2 separate regions of the Homo sapiens genome follow, and region 1 is linked to region 2. The links are contacts of gene promoters, found by promoter capture Hi-C in human tissues and cell types (Jung and others, 2019). All regions are on one chromosome and are shown on one strand. The core of a region is centred on a gene start or on the middle of the fragment in contact, and the rest is flanking DNA. Distances in the headings are between cores, read along the strand shown.

What was found. The method cuts DNA at HindIII sites, captures the fragments that hold promoters and counts their contacts. A contact is called where the count stands out against the background at its distance.
Region 1: a contact is called between a fragment that was not itself captured here and the fragment with the promoter of MST1 in region 2, in 1 of the 25 tissues and cell types used here (dorsolateral prefrontal cortex).

The regions. Positions count from the first base shown.
Region 1 is chr3:50,235,655-50,239,882 of GRCh38, reverse strand. GNAI2 (G protein subunit alpha i2) reads right to left here and starts at 3,679. Exons shown (of 9, transcript NM_002070.4): 1 at 3,430-3,679. The coding sequence starts at 3,547. RefSeq lists enhancers at 749-1,358, 1,867-1,946, 3,801-4,228 and a silencer at 3,472-3,931. The HindIII fragment of the contact is 5,493 bases long and covers 1-3,996 here.
Region 2 is chr3:49,687,790-49,692,020 of GRCh38, reverse strand. It overlaps MST1 (macrophage stimulating 1), which reads left to right and starts at 2,547. Exons shown (of 18, transcript NM_020998.4): 1 at 2,547-3,423; 2 at 4,124-4,231. The coding sequence starts at 3,330. RNF123 (ring finger protein 123) reads right to left here and starts at 2,464. Exons shown (of 39, transcript NM_022064.5): 1 at 2,415-2,464; 2 at 774-891; 3 at 512-596. The coding sequence starts at 855. RefSeq lists an enhancer at 2,634-3,193. The HindIII fragment of the contact is 11,098 bases long and covers 1-4,231 here.

The DNA of each region.
Region 1 (4,228 bases), core at 1-2,500, 550 kb before region 2:
CCCTGCTGGACCAGCCAGCTCAAGCTCGACTGTGGCTACTGCAGTGTCAGAGACAGCAGCCCTCTAGCAGTGCACCAACAGCCTGAGTTGGAAGGAAGAATACAAAGCCACTCTGCTCAGCAGGAGTTCCGCACAGGGTGGGATAAGAACTCTCTCAGGTGCCAGCATAGCCTGTGGCGGGGCTGGGAAGAAACAGCCTGAAGAACTTTTCTCAGTGTCCCCTCAATGCTGGTCACCAATCCTGTGGTGGGCCTGTGGGCCCTTGCCACCTGCCCACAGTATGCAAACTGCCGCTCAGTTTACTCCACCATCTACCCAAAATCAGGTTCAGAGGATACTTCCTTCATTCAACAAACAGATGAGAAGCACCCAGTAGATGCCAGGCTCCATGCTGGGCACAGAAATGAAGAGGACTTAGCCCTGCCCTGCAGTCTCCAGGCATCTGAGGGGGGAAGCAACAGCGCTGGGAGCCAGATGTTTCACCAGCCTTGGTCGAGGGAGGATGTCCAGGAAGGATCCTGGGAGGTGATCCCAGAGTAAAGTTTTAAAGAACAATCAAGTAGGGAACAACACACACAAAGTTCCAGGGGCAAGAGAGAACTGCTCTGTTTACATTCTGAAGCCTTTATGGAGCCAATGGTGGACACTGTCTCCTTTTTTTGTGAAGCTGTCCACACAGGCCCATCCCAAATCAGAGACTCTCCCCCCTCACATACACTCTGGCTTCCTTTCCCTTAAGAGCCCAGACCAGGGTCCCAGATTCCACCTGGGCCTAGCTGATCAGTCACGTTGAGCTGGGTAGGAGTGGGGAGCATCCCTAGAATAGGACTGGTATCTGCTCCCCCTACAAAGTTGCCAGGAAATACTCTCTTGCCTGTGTGTACCACATCAGCCTCTGCCCTGGTGACAAGGACTGTGCCTGCCTGCTGGCAGGGCTACCCAAGATGGGAGGGAGGCGGTGTGCGGGCGGGGCAGCAGGCGTGGTTCTGGCTGGGAGGGAAGGCTGGCAGTTGCCCAACCTGAGTCCCGTTGCCTGGACAAAGTCTCCCGCTACATGGGACAGGCGCCCAGAACTCTGAACTTACCACAGCTGGGCTCCCATCACCACCTTGCACCTGGATGGGAAAGGCATGGCTCAAGCCAGGATCCCTCCCCAGGCAGCCATGGCAGACTGGGTCATCAATATCAAGCAGAGCTTGGTCAGAGCCCTTTGCAGCACACTGCAGGGTCTTTACTCCCAACCTACATCCCCAACAAGAACCACCAGGAGGCTCTTGTTCTCCCTCCCCATCCTGACCTGGGGCACTCCTTTGGCCAAAACCCAGGAAGCCCATTTCACAGAGTAAGCAAAGGCCAGAAGGCCAGGACCCCAGGGTGAACTTCCCAGGCTAGAAAGTGCTAAGCCAGACCCTGCACCCCTGGCTGCTGCCAGCCCAGTGTGGGAGGAGTTACCAGGTCTCACTTGCCTTAGCCCAAAAGGTGAGCTGGGCTCCAAGGAGCAGGCCTGGTGGGATGGGGGACCCTTCTGGTGTCGGGACACAAAACTAGCCAGAAGCCCTGCGTTCCCCCAGCTCTATGGTCCAGTCTTGCATTTCCTCGGCCACCACAGTAACTGCAATCGCCTGGGGAGAGGCTGTCTAGAGACTCCTGGCTGGGCACTGGGAGGCAGCGGTACCGGAAGTGCCCTCCCCAGGCCCGTCGGGCAGCAGCAGCAGCAGCGACGGGCATTCCGCCGCGTCGACACCCACTCACTGCCGCTGCCGCACTCACAGCAGAGACAGGAAGAGGCAAGCGCCCAACGCAAAGCAGCCCAGGAGGCTGGGCCGCCGCCCCTTCCCGCCCCTTCTCTTCCTCCCTGAGGCAGCAGCGAAGCGGATGCCATTTTGAAACCTCCAAGGCTGTGCCCCGGAGGCCGGGTCCGCAGGGACAGTCAACAGATGGCCCATAATGGACATACATGCTGTTCCTCGGCCACAGGTCCAGCACGAAAAGCCCTGCTTTTCACAGCCTGGGAGCCCTATGACAGTTCTGAAGTCGAGGGGCCACACCCCCCCATGCACTTCTCAGCCTACAACGGTGCTGCGCTGTTGCAAGGGCCTCCCTCCCCCCAACTCTAAAACCCCCAAATCAAAATTAGACTGCCACTGGGCACCACACCTACTTCCAGTGGGAAGCTGGATGGGGACAGCCAGTAGGCCCACCGTCTTTGCAAAAGGCCAGCTGGGATGCTCAGAGGCACCCTGGCCCACCCCCAGCTGGCCCCTCAACTCCTCATTCAGCTAGTCCACCATCCCCCTTCACAGGGTCCCAAGATCCAACAAGCCCCCCAACTCTCAGAGGCTACATCCCAGGCCTTGCAGCCCAGAAGGGGTGTGGGCAGCCCAGCACCTACTAGCAGATCTCCTGGGCTCACCCGCAGGGGCAGCAATATGTCGGCTGTCTCACCACTTCCACTTCCCCCCACTCCTCTAGCAGCCACCATCTTTTCTGGCCTTGGAGGCGGCCACAACCCTAACTCCTCCACTCTCTCTCCTACTTCCCAGACTGGCCTTCGAAACTGGAAAACATAGAGCCTCCTTGGGAAGCCTGAGGCCTGGCCCCCTCCCCCAGCGTGACCAGTGGAGCCTCAATCCAGCCCCGTGGGGGTTCTGCATAAGGCAGCCTAGGCCCTCTCCAACCCAGGGCTCCCGCCTCCTAGCCCAGCCCACTTGGTGCAGGAAGGGTGGAGGGATCTGGGGAAGGCCAGAGTGTAAGAGGACTTAGGGGAGGATCAGCAGAGGGTTTCGGGAGTGATGCCTGCAGAGAAGGATCTGGAGGGCAGGAAGCAGGGAGCAGGGCTCGCTGAAGGGGTTCCAGCTGGAGATGGGGCTCAAGAGCAGTTTCCCACTCGAGAGGTTCCTTGGGTCAGAGTGCACAGGTGGAGGATACAGATTCCAGACTAGGGATGGGGCACAGAAGGAGAAGGAGGGAGTGGGTGGGGGGCCTGGCAGGGGCCCCGCGGGATGCTCATGCCCAATAGGAATAAAAGGCGCAGGTGAGGAAAACAAGCGGAGCCTGAGGGTTGGGGAACAAGTGGCGGGCATCCTGGGGGTTTGGGCAAAGTGTAGGGAAGGATGGCGGGGCTCTGAAGTTCTGTGAAGCTAGTTAGCAAGGGGGGATGGCCAAGCAGGGCACTGGACCGCGGGTGTTGGGGCACTGTTGACTGGATTTGGAGGTCTGGGGTCTGGGATGAGACAGGGGTCTGGTCTAGAGTCTGGGCAGGATCAAAGGTCTAGTCCAATCTAGAGTTTTCAACCCTGGTCCTGGCCCAGGTGTGGGGTCCCAGACAGCCCGGGTCTGGGAGTTTGAAGCCCTAGTCTGGGAGGTCAAAGTCCTTGTCTGGGGATTCGAGCTGGGAATCAAGGATCCCAGTGCGGGACGCGGCCTCACCCAACAGCAGCAACTTCACCTCCCGCGCCGCCTTCTCTCCGTCCTCCCGCAGGTTCTTGTCGATCATCTTAGAGCGCTCGGCCGCCGCCTTGTCCTCGGCGCTCACGGTGCAGCCCATCCCGCCGTCCGCCGGCCCGGCCGCCGCCCGGCCCCCACACGGCCCACGGCCCGGCTCGGCCCCGCCCGACCCACTCCGCTCCCACCACCAGCCCTCTGCGGGAAGCACTCGGGTCGGCAGTTCCGAGCGACTGCGGGAGGCGCCTTCCCTACCGCCGCGCACCGACGGCGGGGCGGGCCGGGGGTGGGGCCTGGGCGAACCAAGCCTGTGACTGGGCCGGGGCGGGCTTGCAGGCGGGGCCAGAGGAGATTAGAGGCTGTTGATTGGCTCGAGGGCGGAGCGAAGGGGGAAGTTAGGCGCAGCCCAGGCTCGGGCCTGGGCTGCAGGCGGGGCCACGCGGAGAAAAGGCAATAGGGGTGGTTCCAAACCCCGGGACCCGGCACTGGGCGGGCTGCAGGCGGGACCGGGCTGTGATTGGGTGCGGAGCGCCGGGAGCTCTGTTGCTGGACAGCCGGGAGGGCGGATCTGTTAACCCGAGGGTGGGGATCCGGTGCCCTCGAGGGCAGAGCAGGAACCAGCCCTCTGAGCTTCTGCGAGTTGGGCGAGTTAGGTGGAGGAGGCGTGTCTTTGTCATTTGTTAAAGTTAATGAGTCCAGTAAACTTGTTTTGGGATCTACGAACTCGGGAGCCTTTCTGGACTGCGGTTTTCTCAGTCTTAAGGCGGGTTTACCGCCTTCTCCC
Region 2 (4,231 bases), core at 1,298-3,797:
CTACCCACCTTGGCCTCCCAAAGTGCTGGGATTACAGGTGTGAACCACTGTGCCTGGCCCTCTAAGTTTCTGCTAAAATGTACTTGTAACTTTTATACTGACTACACTTAAAAGTATTAAACTTGTAAAGAAAAGGCCCTGGAGGAGTTTGTTCTTTACAAGGTCAGTCAGAAGCTACAAGGGGCCAGGCTGGGGCCAAGGTGAGGGCAGGTACATGCAGGGGCAGATGCTGGGTATGGAGTAGGTGCCAGGTGCTAGCTGGGCATGAATGTGCACCCGCTCCCTGACCTCTGCTCCCTGACTCTCAGAAGGAACTAGCACTGCCTGGAGACAGGAAGAAGCAGAGTACGGAAGGCAGACTCTCTGGCCAGAGATCTCGCAGCCAGGAGCACAGTGAGAACAGAGCCTAAGCCTATCTGTCCAGAGCCCAGGCTCCCTTTCCCTACAACTGCAGCCTCCTTATTCTGGTCTGGCCCAGCAGAGTGAGGAGGGGCCACCCACCCAGCCATACCTGCTGGTGGCTGCTGGGGGTGCATGTTCAGAAGAGGAAAAGATGCGGTTCAGGTAGTCATTCAGCAGCTTCTCCTGCACAATGCCTGAGCCACAAGTCAGAAGGGAGAAAAGGGCCACATGATCAGTGCAGCTCCTGGCCCCTGCTGGCCCCAGAGACTTCTGGTCCTAGGCCAGCCACAGGTGCAGCAAGGCCTGAGGCCTTTGTCCCTTCCTTCTCCTCCCAACAAGAGGAGCCTCCTTCCTTCCCTGCCAGCTCTTACCTGTGACCCTGGATTTCTCAGCATCTGAGGTCAGCCTATAGCTCTTGCGGGAGAAAGACATGCCGGCCCCCTTGGATGCCATCCTTCATCTCTCATGGGCAGCCAGTGGTCCTGGGGGCTGAGCCAGACACAGAGCCTGTCTACTCAGGGCCAGCCAGGGGCCCCCACACCTGACCTCAGTCCTGCCATGGCAGGAAGGCTTGGGAGCAGGTGAGGCCAGGGGCATGCACACTAACACATAGGGCAGGGGAATGCAGGGGCTCCCAGCTTCCTACACAGGGAGGGTAGCCAGGGTCTAGGCCCATGTAACAGGGACCACTTCTTGTTCTCCAGTGTCCCTGTGCCCAGCACAGGGCTGGGCAGAGAGCAGGTACTAGATATATTTTTGCCGAACCATAACAAAATGTCTCAGCTCTGTGGAAATCAGACCAAAATGTCCAAAGTGAGGTGTCCTAGGGGCAGAGCCCCTGTATCCATCTCAGTTGTAAGCCATACTGAGTCCAGCTCACAACCAGAAGCGACAATCCTACACATTCCCCCAAGTGCAGACCACCACTGGTCTGGTCATCTCTAGCCATAAGTCCCACTTACTCCCCACAAGGCTGGAGCCTCTTTCCTCAGCCCTGGGTTCCTCCCTTCTTTTATCCATGGTCCTGATAGTTTCACCATTCCCACTCACACATGTGGCCTCCCACCTCATCCAAGCACCACCCTTGCCCAGCCCTCATGGCAAACTCCATTGGTCCTCCTAGTGCATCTATCCCTCACATCATGTTGCTGCTGCAGCTGCTCCAGAACCTGCACTGAGTCCCTGGTGCTGGCCTCACTGATGTGTAGCGGTGCTGTCCAACACAGCAGCCGTCATCCACATGAGGTTACTTAAATTTAAAGTTTTAAAAATTAACAATTCGATTTCTCAGTTGCCTTAGCCACATTTCAAGAGTTCAATGACCACATGTGGCTAATGGTTACTCTGTTGGACAGCACAAAGGTAGAACGTTCCCACCATCATATAAAGTTCTATTAGACAGCGCAGGTCTAGAGTTTCGCTCTGCAGCACTGCCTTAGCCAGCACTCCCTACTCTGCAGTTCAGTCTCTTATCTCACCCCAAACAGACCCTCTACTCCCGCCACAAACCCTTGTGGGTCTGCACCACGCCTGCTCCTCGGGAAGGTGATTTTCCCGACCTCGGGCCCTCGGTGGGCGTCCATGATCGGTGCCCCTTCACTACCAGAGTAGTTGAAGATCTGATTAAACTCAGTCATTCATTTGATGAGCAGACCTTCCAGACACCCGGAGTGGGCTCCGGGAGTCAGTTGCTGAGGACCCAGGTGAGAGGCGGACCTTGTCCCCGCCCGGGGACTCCCTGTCACGGCTATCCCGTCCAACCCCGCCGGGGTATCCGGACTCAGAACTGAACCTACTCCGTCTGGGAGCCCAAGGACGGCGAGGGCGGCGCATGGCTCCCCCAAGTCGCCCCCGCCTGGCCCCAAGCTCCACAGGACCTGCCAGACCAGCTTCCGCTCGGAGTTTCGCACCCAGATCCCTGCGCTGCAGGTGCCCTCGCACTGGACTAGCCCGGACCGCGAAGGGAATAGCCGGAACCCGCCAGGCTCAGAGCCCTGCCGCCCCTCACTCACCCGGAGCCTCGGCCGCAGCGACCCGGCTCACAACATCCGCCCAACCTCTTGGCTACGGCGTCCGTTCAGGGCCAAATCACGCGCACGCTTGCGCGCTGAGCCTCCAGCCGCGCACGCGCACTGGCCCGCGCCCAGCCTCCGCTAGGGGACCCCCTCCATGGCTTCCCACCGGGTTGTTCCAGGCCTCAGCTTCGCCGAAAGGCCTCACCACCTCCGACCTCCGCCTGCTCTGGGGATGCTCCCAGCCCTGCTGCGGCAGAACGCGACATGCTAACCGGAATCCCTAGGCCGCCTGTCTCCTACCCATACTTAGAGGCCCCGCTCAGACGGTCCTTAAAACGTCTGAAAGGCCGTTCCTGCCAGAGTCCCTGCTACCTGTTACCTCCACCCCTATTTAGTCCTAGTGGACAGCCTCGCTCACCTTCCCTGGGATGACACTTCTGGCGGCTGAGATGAGCGAGCCTCTCTGGGCTCTGCCGCCGGGTGTGGGCTGACCTGCCTACAGCTGGGGCCTGATAAGGCAGCAGCAAAAGGGTGGAGGGGAGGCAGTGTTGAAGCTGGGGCAAGTAATTTTCCCCAATTTACAGGGAAAAACCGAAATTCAGAAAAGTTTAATGTCACCCAGGGGCTGGAGCCCAGACCTCTGGCAGCTCTCACTTTCACAATGCCCTTGGGCTGACTAGGCTGCAGAGGGGTTTCACCCCAACCCCAGGGCACCTCAAGTGTCCCCACCAAACCTTCCTAACACCTGTCCACTAAGCTGTACTAGGCCCTTGCAACTGACCTATGGGACCTGAGGCCTGGCCCCTCATGGCTCCTGTCACCAGGTCTCAGGTCAGGGTCCAGCAGGCCCTGAGCTGACGTGTGGAGCCAGAGCCACCCAATCCCGTAGGGACAGGTTTCACAACTTCCCGGATGGGGCTGTGGTGGGTCACAGTGCAGCCTCCAGCCAGAAGGATGGGGTGGCTCCCACTCCTGCTGCTTCTGACTCAATGCTTAGGGGTCCCTGGTAAGTGCCCCCAACCCTGATCCCCATCTGCCTTCAGGAGGGGGTTGGCCCCATTCTCCTATTCTAGGATGAGAAAAAAGTCGGGGAGCCAGAGGCTCAGTGGGCATGGGGCAGTGACCTTGCCCTCTTGAGCACAGCTGGGAAGCCCTAGGAACACATAGACATTGCCCACTTAGGCCTCTATTAGCACGTCTGCTCTAGCACTGAAGCAGTGTCAGGACCACACAGATGCACGCACACAGCAGGCAGTGACCCCTCCTGAGCCTGATCTACCCCTCTAACCTAGCATATGCCTTTGTGCAGGTGAGAGCCCAGATTTGGAGTCTGAATGCCTAGCCAGGGCCCCTGGCTGGGTAATGTGATGGCTCTGAGCCTTAGCATTCTCATTTGAGAGATGAGGTGGGGCAAGCTTCATCACCCACTGCTCTCACAGAGCGTATGTGTTAGATCTGAGCCCGGTGCCTGGGCCACTAAACAGAGGCACCGGTGATAACTACCAAGTCTGGGCCTGCTTCCCAGGGGAAATTTTTTTCACAAGTATCTGTGCAGGGGGCTAGACTGGCCCTTGAAAGTGCATACAGGGTCCATCCCAGAAGCCTTGTAGCTTTGATCCCCTGAATGAACAAAGTGTGGACATGCCAATACACATTACTGACATGTATGCCCACCTGACCTGCACCCACTCATGCCTACTCTGCAGGGCAGCGCTCGCCATTGAATGACTTCCAAGTGCTCCGGGGCACAGAGCTACAGCACCTGCTACATGCGGTGGTGCCCGGGCCTTGGCAGGAGGATGTGGCAGATGCTG